2 separate regions of the Homo sapiens genome follow, and region 2 is linked to region 1. The links are contacts of gene promoters, found by promoter capture Hi-C in blood cells and fetal thymus (Javierre and others, 2016). All regions are on one chromosome and are shown on one strand. Each heading gives the region's core, a stretch centred on a gene start or on the middle of the fragment in contact. The rest is flanking DNA. Distances are from core to core; before and after follow the strand shown. Region 1 holds the start of YES1 (YES proto-oncogene 1, Src family tyrosine kinase). Region 2 overlaps COLEC12 (collectin subfamily member 12).

What was found. Contacts are between HindIII fragments. The CHiCAGO score rates a contact against its expected background, and 5 or more counts as called.
Region 2: a contact is called between a fragment that was not itself captured here and the fragment with the promoter of YES1 in region 1, in 1 of 17 cell types (monocytes). The highest score is 7.3, in monocytes.

Annotation. Positions count from the first base shown.
Region 1 is chr18:810,513-813,799 of GRCh38, reverse strand. YES1 (YES proto-oncogene 1, Src family tyrosine kinase) reads left to right here and starts at 1,558. Exons shown (of 12, transcript NM_005433.4): 1 at 1,558-1,686. RefSeq lists enhancers at 356-897, 898-1,440 and silencers at 1,172-1,681, 1,732-1,791, 1,862-1,951. The HindIII fragment of the contact is 10,737 bases long and covers 1-3,287 here.
Region 2 is chr18:320,175-323,461 of GRCh38, reverse strand. COLEC12 (collectin subfamily member 12) reads left to right here. Exons shown (of 10, transcript NM_130386.3): 9 at 1,655-1,800. Among named protein-coding and RNA genes, the nearest start is that of THOC1, 54 kb to the right of the region's middle. The HindIII fragment of the contact is 1,804 bases long and covers 815-2,618 here.

The DNA of each region.
Region 1 (3,287 bases), core at 309-2,808:
AGGAAGACGAAATTATCTCTATTTAGTGAAGAAAGGCAACAGCTCAAGGAATTTTCTATTTTAATAAAAGCTGAATATAGACCTACATAAAATTTTAAAGCCCTGAGACAGTCAATGACAAATGAAGTTTTAGTAGCTAAGAAAATACAGCATCGTTCCACATTATGTGTCTCTTTAACGCCTACGCCTACCTTTCGTTCATTTAGTGAGCTGAAGAAAAAAATGTTCAAACCCTTATATGCATTTCCTTAAGTTCCTAGAATACCGGAATACTGACACATATGATTGCACTATTTCCTATCCGTCGAAGATGATTCTGAATTTCACTAAAAACCGCAAAGGAAACCAATAGTCACAAAATAATTCTGATAACCCCACCAAAGAGGAAATAAAGAGAGGAAGTTACTCTAAAAGTCTGATAGGGCAAAAGTGACTGCAGCAGAAGGGCCTCAAGGTTCAGTCCATGAGGACCTTGATTAACCTTCATCTTTACGCCCCCACCCCATCCTTCCGGGTCCTCCCCCTTCTTCAACGACTGGCTTTACAAGGCTCATAGGAAAGGTGCGTGTATTCAGACGGACACGATTCCAGCTGTGGCTCCTCCACTTTCAGGGTCGCTGTTTCCACAGTTGACAAGCAGGAGAACCATACTTGTTGCACTTCCCTCACTGGGCTGCCGCCAGCATCATATAGAAAAACGCTGTCCCAACATAAGCCAAAGCCACCATGACTGGGATAGTCGCCAAACAGAACTCAGCTTCGGTTCCCCTCCCGGCAAGGCTGGTTCGACCTACAGTCAACAGGAAGCTCCTGGGGGCAGGGACAGGATCCCTGCCTCGGAAGGAGGCAAGACGTGAACGTTTTTTGGACGGCGATCAGGATGGTGATGAGGGTGTGAGTAACGCCCCCGGCTCACGCGGTTGGGCTTGAGATTTTACTACCAACGACAAAGGGTGCGGAAGCGTAGCGCTGAGAAGCAAACAGCCAACCAAAAAAACTCAACCCCGTCCTCCCCCACAAAAGCAAGCCCCAAAGCCCTGGCCACTACTGAGAGCTGGGCCAAGGAACAGAGAAAGGCAGAGGGGCAGAATCGGAGCGCTCCATTCAATCTCCGCGGCAGCCGAGCGTCGGTGGGTTCGCGGGTGGGAAGGGACGCCGCGGGCCTGCTCTCCGGGCAGGGAAGCACCTCCTCCTCACGCCCCCTCGGCCTGCACCGCCCCCGGGAATCCGCCCCGGACCCCGCCGCCATGTTGGGTCGGGAGAAGTGACACGGACCGGTCGCCTATCCTGACCACAGCAAAGCGGCCCGGAGCCCGCGGAGGGGACCTGACGGGGGCGTAGGCGCCGGAAGGCTGGGGGCCCCGGAGCCGGGCCGGCGTGGCCCGAGTTCCGGTGAGCGGACGGCGGCGCGCGCAGGTACCCGCAGCCCCCGCCCCCGCTAGAAGTCAGGGGGCGGGGCCGGGGGGGGGGGGCGGAGGAGGTGGAGAGTGAGGCCGAGGCGTGGGGAGCCCGGGAACTCCCTCCTCCTGAAGTAACGCGTCCCGGGCCGGCTCTGCCGTCGTTGCTGCCGCCGGGCGCCCCGGGACGAGGAGGTGGAGGAGGGAGAGGGCCCGCGGGCCTCGCCTCCGCCCTCCGCCACCTCGAGCTGCGGTAGCAGCGACTCATGAGAGCGCGGCCGGAGGACAGGTAAGGACCCGGTGGGGCCCCGCGGGCGGAGGGTTCCACCTCTGCCCGGACAGGGCTAGGCCCCAGCGCCCGGAGCCGCCGCCGCCGCCGCCGCCGCGGTTCCCCGCCCCCGCGGGCCCGAGTCGGGAAGTTGGGAAGAAACTTCTCCCCTCCCCCGGATCGCCCGGCGGGCTTGTCTCGTTCCCCGCGCTACCTGCTCGCCCCTGACTCGGTCTCTGCCCTGTCCAGACCTGCCGGGTCCCGCCCAAGTCCGACCTGAGGTTCCAGGGGCGTGGGGACACTCCCCACCCCTTGTCTTTGGGGTCGTGTGGACCGCCCGGCGACGGGGAGGAGAGGTTTATTTTTGCCCCTACGGCCGAAGTAGGGGCGAGGGAAGCGGCCCCTTTGGGTCCTAAAGGCTGGGGGTCTGTGTATCGGCCGACGCCGGTAGCAGCTGTGCGGGGAGAGGAGCGGGTGTGTGGGGCGAGTGGATGAGCCTTTCTGGCTTTACTTGGTTTGATTGAAAACCGCAACATGTTTAAAGTTTTCCTTTGTTTTGGGTTGGGGGTTGGGAAATTTACCATTCAGCGTCCACTTTTACGGAATCATGCCACTCCGCCTCCCGTTGCGTTCGGTTCCCTGTCCACATGTGTTAAAGAAAATTGTCTTAAAGTGTGTTTTTCTTCTTGATAATTGCTTCCAGCTTTCACTTTATTGGGCATGGGGCAGAGCTGTTTTAAGAAGCTCTTTGAAAATCAAGTCTGGTGTAGGGACTTTAGTTTTTGTTTTGTAATGAGTAGGACTTAACAGTTCGGATTTGGTTGAATCATTTTCTGCATAATTAATTGATACAGGCGTGGAATAACATACTGTATAATTATAAATTACTAAAGGAAATAATGAAAGTCTTTGGTGGAAGCACAATTTTATGTCCATTTATTATGTATATACGTTCCACGGGTGTGTGTTTTCACAGTCGATTTCACATGATATGATTATAGTATCTTCATGTATTATAACTGTAAGATTACAGTGCCAAAGATACCTTGATAATTTTAAATATTTAAACCATCCTGTTACACTTCTAAAGTTAAATTACGCACTAAGGAAAGTATTACTAAATGTATACACGTGACTGTGCATTTAAGGAAAAGTGCATGGTAAATCTAATATCTTAACTATCACAGTGCTTGGCACACGGTGGACAGGAAGCATTTTGAATGGTCAGGTAATAAAGGAGTATCTTGTATTAGCCAAGGATCTTGTATGCATCACTTACGATGTTCATATATTGTACAGTAAGAAAGTTTTACTTTAGCAAATAATATATATGGTTTTTTGGTTTTTGTTTGTTTGCTTATAAGTGTGAGACCCCTGCCACAATTGACATGTAAGGAAAGGAAGTTAAATTGTATTTTTATTTTTGGACATTAGCTAAAAGTCGGTGGAGATTTTAAATGCTGGTTGACAATTCAGAGGGTCCTACATTTGAAAAAGACAATTGCCTTTGATCTGAAAACAAAACAGTTTATATCCATGTTTCCAGGATAAAAGATAAAAGGGCTCTTAAAATATATACTCTGTTGTAACCACTGTAATGTTATAATGGCTTTAATTTCGTA
Region 2 (3,287 bases), core at 467-2,966, 490 kb after region 1:
GGGACTTTGTCTCTTCTCTGCACTGCTATGTTGCCATCACCCAGATGATACCTGGCTCATAGCAGGAGTGCTATGGATGCCTGGTGTGAGTGAGTGAGTGAGACTATTTTCTAACTCTCCCTTCTAAGTAGCATCCCATTTTTACTCTCACCAATCGATGGTTTCCTCTGAATTCTCTTTCATCACTAGGTTTATTTAATTGAGGCCACTCAATGTATATATATATATGTATTTTTGAGATGGAGCCTCGCTCTGTCACCCAGGCTGGAGTGCAGTGGCATGATCTTGGCTCACTGCAAACCTCCACCTCCTGGATTCAAGCAATTCTCCTGCTTCAGCCTCCCAAGTAGCTGGGACTACAGGTGCCTGCCACCATGCCCAGCTAATTTTTGTATTTTTAGTAGAGACAGGGTTTCGCCATGTTGGCCAGGCTGGTCTCGAACTCCTGACCTCAGGTGATCCATCTGCCTCAGCCCCCCAAAACGCTGGGATTACAGGCATGAGCCACTACGCCCGGCCTTCATACTCATTTTTTTTAAATCCCAAAATACACATTTGGTGTGGGGGAGTCAGTTCTACCCTGTCCCCACCCTTTGACTAAACTTCAACTGTCCTTTCCCGCTGCCTCTGGTTTTGCGGGTGTTATTGTCCAAAGATACAGGGCCATACAGGCTGTCTCCTCGGGTGACCCGAGGACACCCTGTGGCCAGTGCGGTAATGAGTCATTGTTTATAGGAAGCACCCTCCGCTGCAGATGTTCTTCCAGACCCTCCACATGAGGCAGGCTTGTCCTCTCAGGCAGCAGCCACAAGCTTCTGTGCATGAATCTGCTTCTTAGACAAGATTGAACCTTCAAGGGGTGAGTCTGGAAGCACACCTGATTTATTCGTGGAAACGTAATCAAGAACTGTTATCCATGGCAAGGTGCTGTTCTGAGCAGCAGCATCCAAGTTAAGAAGCCCCATGTGAACTCATCCTAAAGAAAACTTGTTTTTAAGAATCTCTCTCCCAAAAAAGGGAGTGAAATGTAGGAGTCATTTTCAGTAAGATTAAGTTACTATTTCTTTCTAAAGCAATCAACCTTCTACAACTCACCCAGACAATCATAACCAGTTATTTGTAATTGTAGGTTCTTGTAAATGTATATCAAAAGTCTTTCACTTTCTCTTCCTGGCTCTTGGACTTGTTAGAGGCAAGATATTGAAATGTACAAGGTCCCTCTGGGTTCTCACAAGATCATGTGTGCGTGTGTGTGTGTGTGTGTGTGTATCATGTCCTCATAATGAATAGATATTCACACACATATATACACTCATGCCCAGAAGTCAGCATTCCAGTACACATTAGAAAGTTATTCATCTAACTGTCCCAAAGCAAGATTCGCTCCCTCTGCATTCTGATGAACCAGCCTAGTGAGTTTGGTTCATGGTAGCAAAGATCACAAGCGCGCAGGGAGATGCCGCATTATGCATTACTCTGCAAAACAGCTGCTCCTTTCTCTGAATAAGAGCATGTACTGATTTTTAAACTGCATTTTCATTCCAGGATAAATGACATGCTTCAATTTTGTTTTTTTATATTCTCTGCTGCTCTTGAGTAAAGAAAAGCTCTGCATTACTGTGCAAATAACATTCAATTTCTGTTTTGCTAAAAGAAATTGGAAAGCTGGACAGCCGGATAACTGGGGTCATGGCCATGGGCCAGGAGAAGACTGTGCTGGGTTGATTTATGCTGGGCAGTGGAACGATTTCCAATGTGAAGACGTCAATAACTTCATTTGCGAAAAAGACAGGGAGACAGGTGAGCAGTAGATGGGATTTAAGAGGGAGCTGCCAGCTTATGTCCTATGAAAGGGTGAGGGGTGGTGAGTACAAGGGCCCTGAATGCAGGCACTGCAATTAGGTTTCAGCCCTGGTTATGCCATTTATTAACTGGGCAGGTGATTAACCTCAGGGAAATAGTAATAGCATCTTCTTCACGAGGTTGTGAAGATTTAAATAAGTTAATAAATGTGCCTCACATGTAGGAAGTACTCAACGAATGCTAAACTAACTGACCCACATAAGTATCTTATATTGTGAGTTAATTGTTCTTTAAAATATAGCACCAGCCAGGCACGGTGGCTCACGCCTGTAATCCCAGCACTTTGGGAGGTGGAGGCGGGCAGATCACCTGATGTTGGGAGTTTGAGACCAGTCTGGCCAACACGGAGAAACCCCATCTCTACTAAAAATACAAAATTAGCCGGGCATGGTGGCGCATGCCTGTAATCCCAGCTACTCAGGAGGCTGAGGCAGGAGAATAGCTTGAACCCAGGAGGCAGAGGTTGTGGGGAGCCGAGATCGCACCATTGCACTCCAGCCTGGGAAACAACAGCGAAACTCCATCTCAAAAAAGAAAAGAGATATAGCACCAATGTTAGTTCTTTTCCGTAGACATCCATACACAGCTAATCCAGGTGGCCAAGCGTTCAATTCCACGTGTATCTATTGAGCATCTACTATAGGCCAGATCCTGTGATACATAATAGAGGGAGATGGTCTGTGCTGCTTATCAGCTCATAAGCCAAAGCAGCTTTTGGAGATTTTCTTGACTTCAAAGGCTATGTATCTAAAGCTTCATTTAACACACGACCCTCTTTGGAATGTGGCATCTTAGTTTTCTTCACCAGAATGAGATTAAAAGTTTGTGATAGGGGACAGAGGAAATGGGGAATGAATGCTAATGGGTATGGGGTTTCTTTTTGGGGTGATGGAAATGTTCTAAAATTAGATTAGATTGGTTCTAAATTGCATAACTTTGTGACTATACCAAAGACCACTGAATTATATGCTTTAAATGGGTGAATTATACAATTTGTCAATTATATTTCAATAAAGCTGTTCATATAAAAACAAAAACCTCAAATATATTTTGGTCAAACTATTTTTGGAAGTAACTGGGGCATAAATTATCCGTATTGCCATTCAACAGACAGTTACTGAGCACCTTTGATGTGTCAGGCATTGGTCCAAGTGCTAGGGACCTTAAGACACATAGGAACTCACAGCTGGGTCAGTTGAGGGGGAAAAACACAGATATCTAAACAAGGGATTATAATTGATGGTGACAAGTAACTCAGATTTGTCTTTTGTATGCTTTGTTTGGCCATTTGGGATTTGAGTAGGGACCAGGCTTTCCCAGAATAGGCTTTTCAAAATGAAACTTGGCTTTTCAAAATGAAACTTATCTTTTCATCCAAATAAGATCTTCTAGACATTTCTTTGAAAATATAAGCATTGTTGAAT